Linked DNA regions of Homo sapiens: region 1 is linked to region 2. Evidence: promoter capture Hi-C in 16 types of primary human blood cells and fetal thymus (Javierre and others, 2016). All regions are on one chromosome and are shown on one strand. The core of a region is centred on a gene start or on the middle of the fragment in contact, and the rest is flanking DNA. Distances in the headings are between cores, read along the strand shown.

What was found. The method cuts DNA at HindIII sites, captures the fragments that hold promoters and counts their contacts. A CHiCAGO score of 5 or more calls a contact.
Region 1: a contact is called between a fragment that was not itself captured here and the fragment with the promoter of FAM241B in region 2, in 1 of 17 cell types (endothelial precursors). The highest score is 5.6, in endothelial precursors.

Annotation. Positions count from the first base shown.
Region 1 is chr10:69,971,608-69,976,308 of GRCh38, reverse strand. No RefSeq gene overlaps it. Among named protein-coding and RNA genes, the nearest start is that of LINC02636, 35 kb to the left of the region's middle. The HindIII fragment of the contact is 982 bases long and covers 1,709-2,690 here.
Region 2 is chr10:69,626,804-69,631,601 of GRCh38, reverse strand. It overlaps FAM241B (family with sequence similarity 241 member B), which reads right to left and starts at 1,355. Exons shown (of 4, transcript NM_145306.3): 1 at 1,289-1,355; 2 at 55-122. RefSeq lists an enhancer at 1-812. The HindIII fragment of the contact is 17,043 bases long and covers 38-4,798 here.

The DNA.
Region 1 (4,701 bases), core at 950-3,449, 340 kb before region 2:
AAAGAACTCCTGTATATCCTTCATCCAGATTTGTCCCTCTTTGTCTTATTTCCCACATTTGTTTTCTTATTTTCTTTTTCAGTTTTTTCAACTTATCTTTTTATCTTTTTTCAATTAAATTTTTTTTTTCCTGAATGATTTGAGAGCAAGTTGTAGACATCTTTCTCCTTTACAGCTAGATACTTTGGTGTGTATTTTCTAAGGACAAGAATATTCACTTATATATTTCAGTATGTATTTTCTAAGGACAAGAATATTCACTTATATATTTCAGTGTGCATTTTCTAAGCACAAGAATATTCACTTATATAATGTCACACCATATTCAAACGTTGCCAATTGCTCTATAATGAACTTTTTGTCCATTTTTTTTCTGGCCCTGAATGTATTTTCCATGTCTCTTTAATCTTTACTCTTTGTTATTCTGGATCAGTTCCTCATTGTTCTTTGTCTTTCATGACACTGATATTTTTGAAAAGTACAGGCCAATGTTTTTGCTGAATCTCTCTCCATTACATTGTATTTTTATATCCATTGTTGCCAGTGAGAATGTGGAGGTAGAGGGGCTGAACAAGAATGTATTTAAGTCGGCATAACCCATCCTCACTCTTCAAAAGCCAGGGAGATAAACAATCTATTTGGGGAATATCCAGTACCTAAACTCCTGAAGACCTGTTCAAGCTCAGAATCCTTGGAGATGCCATTTAATAGCTTGTTTTTGGGAATTTACTACTTTCTCAAATGAGGCGTGAGTTAGGAAAGAGATCTCTATGTGATTGGAGTTATCCAAACCAATCTCTTTCCAATTCCCACATTAAAATCTTACTTCCGAGAGGGTACACTGCCGTTTTCCAATCACACATACAGGCTGTTAACAGCTACTATAGTCACAATATATTAAAGACACCAATGGCCACAATATGTCACCAGCTATCACTGTAAACCGTGATAGAATCAAAAAAGATTTAGAATTCAATGTCTTCACTTTTATGAAGAAGAGGCCGTGGGAGATGAAGGGCTGGTGAAGGCACATAACTTGTTAGTGCCACAGCCACATGACTTCTTCGGGTCACAGCCACATCTTGAATTAATATTCTGATTTATTATTTTAACTTGAAAAGATCCAGCAATGCTAAGGAAATCACTGTATCCTTAGCAATGGCAAGAGTATAATGACCACATTAATTAATACTGAAAAAGTGGGGAGGGAGACATAGTTCAAGTCTCCAGGACTAAGATACTATGATTCTGCCAGCCCAATTAAAAAGAGTGGGTGGATGATAAGCATGAAGTATCATTGGATGGGCCTCTGTGAGGTCAGGAGGGAGACTGCATGGGGGTGTATGAGGTCAGGAGGGAGACTGCAATTTATTATTCTAAGAGCATCTTAGCTGTTGGCACATTGAATTAAGAAGCCAGTGACAAAGATGTTCTTCCCAGTCAGCGGCCACAAATGTGAAGGTTTAGTGGTCTTTAATTCAGAGGAAAGACTCTAGCCATATAAACATAGAGATTTATTACTCACCCAGTGATGACTGCTATGAAATCCAGGGTCAACATCCTTCACTACATCTGCTTTTGATCAGCTCTGCAGAGTTAGTATTTATGTCAAGAGTTCTTAGCCCCAAGCTAAGTGGGGGTGGGGTATGAGGTGGAGACAGTGAATAGACAGAGGAAAACGGCTCAGAGAATTCAGAGGTCAGAAGCTTAACACTCAAATACAGGGCTCCATCAATATCTGCCCAGGGGTTTTTCTGATTACACATTTACCAGCCTAATATATGAGTTGAAAAGGATGATGTGTTTTAATGTCTGTGAAATAAGTCTAGGTATTAAATAAGGCAGAGCATTGCTTTACAATTGTAGGAAAAAAATTCTATGCTTTAATGGAAAATGATGCCACATCTGTAGCATATCCTTCTGGGGTATCAGGTTCTATACTATTCATTGTCTTTGAGCTATTTTGCAGCCCTTTCTAACTTGTAGGTAACCGATAGTTATATAAATTATATACTGTCCAATAGTGATAATTGACTTTGTTTCCATTTGCAGTTCATCTCAACCTTCCTTTACTGCATATAATTTGTGCTTGTTTGATTTTTCCTTTGGACCGGTGAAAACATCTGTCTGGTTCCCTCATCATATGAGTCAAATGAAATCTTTAACATGTGTTCATTTTTATATCAGTTTAAGAGTATGATTTTACCTTTTCCTGAACATTATCTTTTAGCAAAAATCCTTCCAAATCCTGATTGTTTGTGGAAAGATTCAGCCACTTGTTTTTCCTGTCTTTCCAAGATTTGGTTACCCAGATCAATTTTCTGGAGACTTTTAAACTAGAGCTTTTAAACATCAGTCATTTAAAACAAAACACAGCTGAAGTTCTTTCTAATGCCATTTTCTGAATTGTCAGGTTAATTAATTGGAAATCACAGGACTGTGTATCTAAGATAACTTCCTGTTTTACCAGTCCTGCATCAAGGATCTGATAGAAGTTCAGGGCTGGCAGTGAGACAGGAAAAGCCAGGAAAGAGAAAGTGGAGAAGGTGCTTTTAAATGCTCAGTGCTAGCATTTCACAGAAGGAAGGGCTCATGATCATGCTTAATGGAAGACTCAGACCTGGAACCCACTTCTTCAGGGACTTCTCAGTCCCATCCTGCTTCTCAGAAAAGGAGGAGAGATGGAAGCTTTTACTTTTATGACACAATTGTCCTCATCCACAGCCAAGATCCCCAAACTGTACAGTGCAATGCCTGTATTTCTGATGGTCTCAGGGGAAGATGGAGGGCCTGTAAGTGGCTGAGAGATGAAAGCACAAGTTCCCCTCCACCTGCCTTCCATGTCCCTCATCCTGAGCTGCAGGTGGAGCAGGTGGAACCACATCTGCTGAGAAGGACTATATTGTCTCTTTATCCCTAGCTGTTTTTCTCATGAGCTGGAGGGCCCATGATTTTGAATGACCCTGGATGAGTCACATAAATTCCCAGTCTTTCATCTGTAAGATGCGAGGGGTGCAGATGATCTTTAAGGCTTCTTTCTACTCTGACATGGCAAGAATCCACGGTCAAGCCTTTTGGTCTGTTGAAGTGTGAAGTAAGCTGCTAGTCATTGTGGCTTTCCTTTGAGTTGAATTGGTTCAGTTTGGTCATTTACAAAGGAAAAGAAGGCACTCCTCAGTTTGATGTATTTGTATATGTGAGTTCCTTGGATCCAAAGTAGAGTTTGCCTGGGACATTCCTTGGGATTCCTTCCCCCTTTGGATGGATTGCCAATTCCACATCATTTGATTACATTTCTGCCTCCGGAAAAGGCTTCATCATGGAATGTTTGTTAGGCACTGATGAAGAAATTTTGGTCAAACCAAGAACATTCAGACTTAAGAATTTTGTTAAAAATTATTGAAACTTATTTCTTCCCCAGTGCTCTTAAAGGTCATAAGATCATTATGATTATTAATTATGGGCCTTTAGAAGTACCAGTAGAAGTTAACTTGACATTCAATTTCCATTTGGTTTTGTCCCAAAATAGAATTCAAGCAAAATACAATAATTAAACAAATTTCCTATATATAAAATTTTCATCCCTCAACCAATGAACACAATGACAATTAAGGCTTAGTAATTCCATGCCTTTGAGTACACCTTTTTACTTTCAAAGCATGTTGCATCTATTACCTTATTGAGTTTTAAAACAATGTTGGCAGCTGTTTTCAGTTTTAGATGAAGCTCCAAGAGGTTAACTGACTTAGTCAGGGCCCCACATCTGTTAATGAAAAAGTCAGAGCAAAACCCACTCTCCTGACCCTTCATCTTTTCCTCTTATATGGCACCATCTTACTTCCATTAGTTAGGAATGAAGTTTCTCTTTAATCATGAAACTCTTTCCCTTCTGAAGGACAGTAAAGGTATATAATTTCTAAAAAAAGAAAAAAAAAGAACAAGATATAGATGATTTGTAATTTATTACTTGGATCAACTTCCATTTTAGAAAAGACAGAAACAAAAAATATAGTTAATATTTACATTTTTTACAATGAAAAGTATTTACATCATAGAGAAGAAGTATGAAATGGCATATAAAACTCTAGAACAACACAAATAGCAAGGACTACAATTTCAGCAAAAAATTATCTGTCCATTTTTTTTCCTTATAAGTTGAAGTGTGTCAGGCTAACTGTTGTCTAACCGTTTTGCTAATTTAGCCAGTTCCTGCTTCATTTTTTTCATTTGATGGCTTTTTCGAAAGAGCCTTTATTTAGTGCAATTAGTAATTGGTCTTCCCACATCACTCTTTTGGGTTCACCTTTGATCTTTAGGATACCTATTACATTACTGTGGTTCAAGTCATTGGCCCCTGTGGTTCCCAGCGGGTAGGACCTCTTACTTAAAAGAACAGTTGTGTTCATTTGCTAAAATCCTCCACATCTGGACAGTAGCAAAGCTACATTTCAAAGAATAGGCTGTTTTGTTCAGCTAAGTCTTTCCATACAGAATACTTGTGTTGCATTCAAAGTCTAGCCCTGTATTTTATAGGACCAAGGCCCAGAAAGCCTGTCATTGCACCAGTGACAGAACTGGAACCAGAACCTAGGTCTTCTGTCTCCCCATGCAGGGACCTCACCCTGGTGTCACACTGCCCAGGATGGATGTGTTCAGGTTAGGGAGAAAGGTCTCTTCTGAACTGAGACCACACTGCCTGTC
Region 2 (4,798 bases), core at 106-2,605:
GATCTGTGGAGGATTTTCCCCCTGACCTCAAAAAGCTTGAAGGAAAAAATTTACCAGAAATTGAGGGAGGCTTGCAGTCAGTGATGTTCACAGAGGTGACCCACGCTGAGTAGATGCTGTGTCTGATTAACAAAAAGGGGAGAAATAAAGGCAAGTTGTTTGCCAGGCAAAAAGATTTCAGACATTGAGTCCACCAGGAAAACTATCAAAAAGATCCTTGGCAAAGGAAGTTTTACTGCCAATCACTACACTGCCAACAGCACAACTGGGACTAGAGCCTCTGCTGTGGCCCACGCCCCGTGGAAGGCCCATCCTGCAAGGCTCACCTCACTCAAGCCTCACAACACTCCCCCGAGGAGGGTACTAGCGCGGCCATTGCACAGGCGGAGGCACAGGGAGACTTAAGTGGCCTGCCCGGGATCACACCTACGGACAGCAGAGAAGGAACACGAGGCCAGAAGCTCTGGTTCTAGGGCCCTCCCTGGGTACTAAACTGGGAGTCCAGGGCACCAGCATCCCCAGTGGGGTTCCAATTCCCTTCCACTAAAAAATGGGTCGAGTGTGTTGCTCCCCCAGGGAGTCAATGTCACCACCTGGGCCTTCCCCAGGAACACCCAGGGAGATGAGGGTCACTTCGGGGTTACTTTACAACCACTGCCTGGTAGCGGCAGACCATCCTAGCCATCATGCGCCTCGGAAGAGCACACCTTTGCTGCAGAGGGCACGCCCCTCACCTGTCCCTCACTTCGCAGGGAACACCAGTCCAACCTTGGCTAACGGGCGCAGGGCCCAGCCTTCCCAAAATATGGGAGGGGGTTGCTGCGGTGGCCCTCGAAAGGCTCCACTCCGCGGACCCCTGGACTGCGGGGCCCCTCCACGCCTCCCCTTGAGTCTGGGTAAAGGCCATTCATTCTCAGGAGATGAGCCTCAGTGTCCACCTACATTCCAGATAGCACTGGTGACATGTATGCCGAAAAAGGTCAGGAGCCCTGTGGTCTTGCCCGTAGCCTGGAGCCCGGGACAGGCGCGTCCCCCTCCTGAAGCCCGCTGGCCCTGGCGCAGGCCGAGCGGATGGTGGTCGCGCGCAGTCCCTTTGTGCTTTGTCATCGCGCCCCCGCCCGGTGGGCCACCCGCGCGCCCGGCCCGCGGCGCACCTGACATTCCGGGCCGGGGGCGGGAGGGACGCTGCCCCGGCCGCCAGCCCCAGCCTCTGGAGCCCGACACCGGCTCCAAGTCCCGGCCCGGGCTGCAGCGAGGGATGCGCTCCCTCCCCGGCGCGGCGACTCACCTGCAGGCGCGACTCCGGGCCTCGGCGGCGTCCACTCCCGGCGGCTCCAGGCGGTTTCCTCCCACCTGACCTCACAGGAAGCGCGCGCCGGAGGGGCGCGGCCCAGTGGCGGCGCACATCGCCCTCTGTAGGCCGCCTGAGGAATTGCACCTGCCCGGCCCAGGGTTGGGGGCGGCGCGGGGTGCTGGGGGTCGGGGAGATGGGGCGTGGGAAGGAGTGGGAGGTGGGGATGGAGAGAAAAGAGGATGGGAGGAGAAGACACGTGGAAAAGAAGGAGAAGAAGGAGGAGGGAGAAAAGAAGGAAAAGGAAGCGGCGTCCACGGAGGAAAAACCCAGGGGGTGGGGGCGCCCTGGCCTGGGAGGAAGGGCGGGCGCAGGCTCAGATGACCAGTGTTATGTTTGCTGACCCAGCTCCGTGGATGCCCCTTGAGTAGGACCCAACCCTGCCCTCTAGGAGTTCCAAGTTCAGTGGGGAAGATGAGGCAGGAACGGGGCAGAACCCTCTGTAGGCTTCCAGGAGAAGATGCGTTTGAGCTGGGGCAGGAGGGTAGGTAAGGATAGAGAAGGTCACTCTTGGCAGAAGGAACCACCTGCAGGGAGTGAATGATCCACCTCTGCCTCCTTCCTGATGTTTTAAAATCCACTTCTCCCCCACCACCTTCATAAGCTGCTCCCTGTGGACCTGCTCACCAGTGGGGGAGAATGAGCTGTGCAGTCCCACAGTCTGGGTTCAGGTTCTGGACTCTAGCAAGTTACTTAGCTGCTCAGTGTCACAAAGCAGGTGTAATCATAGCCTTACAGGACTTCTGTGAAGATTAAGTATGATGTCTCTGGCACATTGGCAATGTTGATAAACGTTAGCTATGATTATCATTTAATAAATGTTTGTGGGAGTGGCAGATATTTGTTGAGCATTTATTAGAACCCAGATTCTGCTAGCTGCTGGGCAGAAGGAACAAAACTAAGAGAGAGATTTAGACCTGGCCTGGAGGACTCATAGTCGGCCACCATAGTCTGATTATTTGATCATGAAACCTTATCAGCAAAAAATGTTTCACGGGTCGCTCTGGTATCTGTATCTTATTTATATGTTACTATTTTTGTTTGTTTCTAAATTACACATGTGTACTGTGAGAACAGATTGGCATGATGGATAAAAGGTGGCTGCTGGAGCCATCCTGTGTTTGAATGTTGGTGTGACTGCTTTCTGGCACTTTCGTGTCAAGTGCTTGGATGAGAGCCTGGCTGCAGTACATGCTCAACGGCTGCTGACTGTTATGATCATTACCTCTTCTACTATCAAGTCGATTGTAAAGCATGCACATTTTAAAAGCATAGGATGTAAAGTAAATATAAACCAAAATCCTAGTGCTTTCTCCCCACACCCCAGTGTGTTCCAGGTATGCCAAGTGCACGCATGAAAGCAGTAATCACAAGGCAGGATGCCCGATTGTCAGAGGTGGCCTGTGATCCCAAATCGCAATGTGCACATTGGAATTACCTGGAATGTTTAGAAACCATCCCAATACCTAGGTTCCACCCCAGAGATCACAATGTCGTTGATCTGGGTTACAATCTGTGCATGGAGACATTTTAAAAACCAGTCTTCTAATGAGCAGCTAGGGCCGAGAAACACTGCCTTCCATGAACAGAACCCCATAAGTAGGTCACGGAACTCAGGAGCCCCAAGAGGGAGGTAACCTCTGTGGGCTGGGAAACCAGGGGATACAGGCAGAAAATCATGGATGTTTTCAGGAAGATTTGAGCTGGTATAACTGCTGCCAGAGAGATACACTCCAGCTGGAGAGAACCGTAAGAGTCGAGAGGAAGAAGCAAGTCCCTACAGAAAAGTCAAGAACAGCTTTGGGGTGGGAAGTGATAGTGCTTGACTGGACTTAGAAATAGCCTATTATTACCAACTAAAATAGCCTAAGGAGGCAACATACCACTTTTGCTATCTCTCCACCTTCTTCAGGTGTCTCTCCTGCTCAAGAACCTGCAATGGTCCCTACTGTCTGCTCCAACAAGCCCCAACTCATTGGCAAGGCTTTGACAACCCTCCAACTCTAGCCCCAGCACACTGTCAGCAACTCCTTCCCTCAGCTCTGCCCACCTGGCCTCTTTGCTTTCCCTGAAGTAGATCACCCAAAGGCCTGCTTTGCTTGGGCCTGAATATCTGCTGGAAGGCCAGCTCCACCCAATCTAAATCCCTTCATCCACAAACGTGATTGTTTCATGTAATAATAATAATAACCCCTATATGTGCAGAGTCCTTACTTCCAAAGTGTTTTCCCAGAGACCACTTCATTCTTTTTTGGATTATGAAATAGAAAGAGTAGGTGTTATTATTCCTCTTTTACCAAGGTGAAATTGAGGCTCAGAGACAAGGTAGATGATGAGCCCAAGGTCAGTGACAGAGCCAGCGTTCAAATGAAGGCAGGTCCCCGGGCTCTGCATTCCAGGCTTTTGCATCCACCAAACAGACTCCCCTGAGTTCATCTCAGCTCTGCAGCCTCTTTACAATTGTGCCCCCACCTTCCCCAGTGCCATCAGCACAAGATTGGGCATTGGGTCATGCCTTAACCCCAACATGTGGTCAATAAAAATGTGCTTTTGGTTTTCTGTTCATAGCAGAGGTCATAATTTTTAAGTCAGGTGTCCTGGCCTGTTCTCTGACTCTGCAGGTGGGAACAACTGTTTCTGCCTCAAAAGAGAATGGCATGATGATAATGGTGATGTCATTTTAAATATATTAATCTATCTATCTCTTTCTCCTGCTATTTCCCCCTGTCTCTTTCCCCTACTCTGGCAGACACTATGCCTGTGTTTATTACTCAGAGAATGGTGTGGGAGAAAGGCAGCACTAGCTTGCCAGTGCCCACTGTTGGTGCCTCCTTAGGCCTGTGGCCATGGAAGACAGTATGACAGGGGCCTCTTCAGAGAAAACACTGGGAAAGGAGGAAATGATGGGAGCATAGGTGTTGTGTGCTGGATCTCAAAGGTGGGCATGAGGCTTGGGAAAGGGAATGGCCAGATAGTGAGTATGACAGGTAGGGCCTTATATGGCCTTGTGGAAATCCTTGGGTCCATTGTGTCTGAGGTGTGGTGGAAGGATTCTTGTGCTCCAGCAATGACAAGGGAGTAGTAAGTAGTAGTAGTAGTAGTAGTAGTAGTAGTAGTAGTAGTAGTAGTGGGAAAATTGCTGGACTTGAAAGGGTCAGGTAGACAGGTATGAAGGGTGGTTCAGTGATGGCCCTCATCCATGGACAGATGATGGGGGACCAGAGGATTGATGGAGGCCTCAGAAAACACCTTACATAGTCAGAAGACTGGAGTGGCCCCACAATATCTTGGTTATATGTAAGTATGTAAGTCCCCTAAGACATAAACCCACCTAGGTGTAATATATTAGCTTGAGTACAGGCTATGCTGCTGGAACAAAAAAAATATACAGTGACTCAATCAAGTAGATGGGCAGCTCTGCTTCACAAGGCCAGCCAAGGACATCCA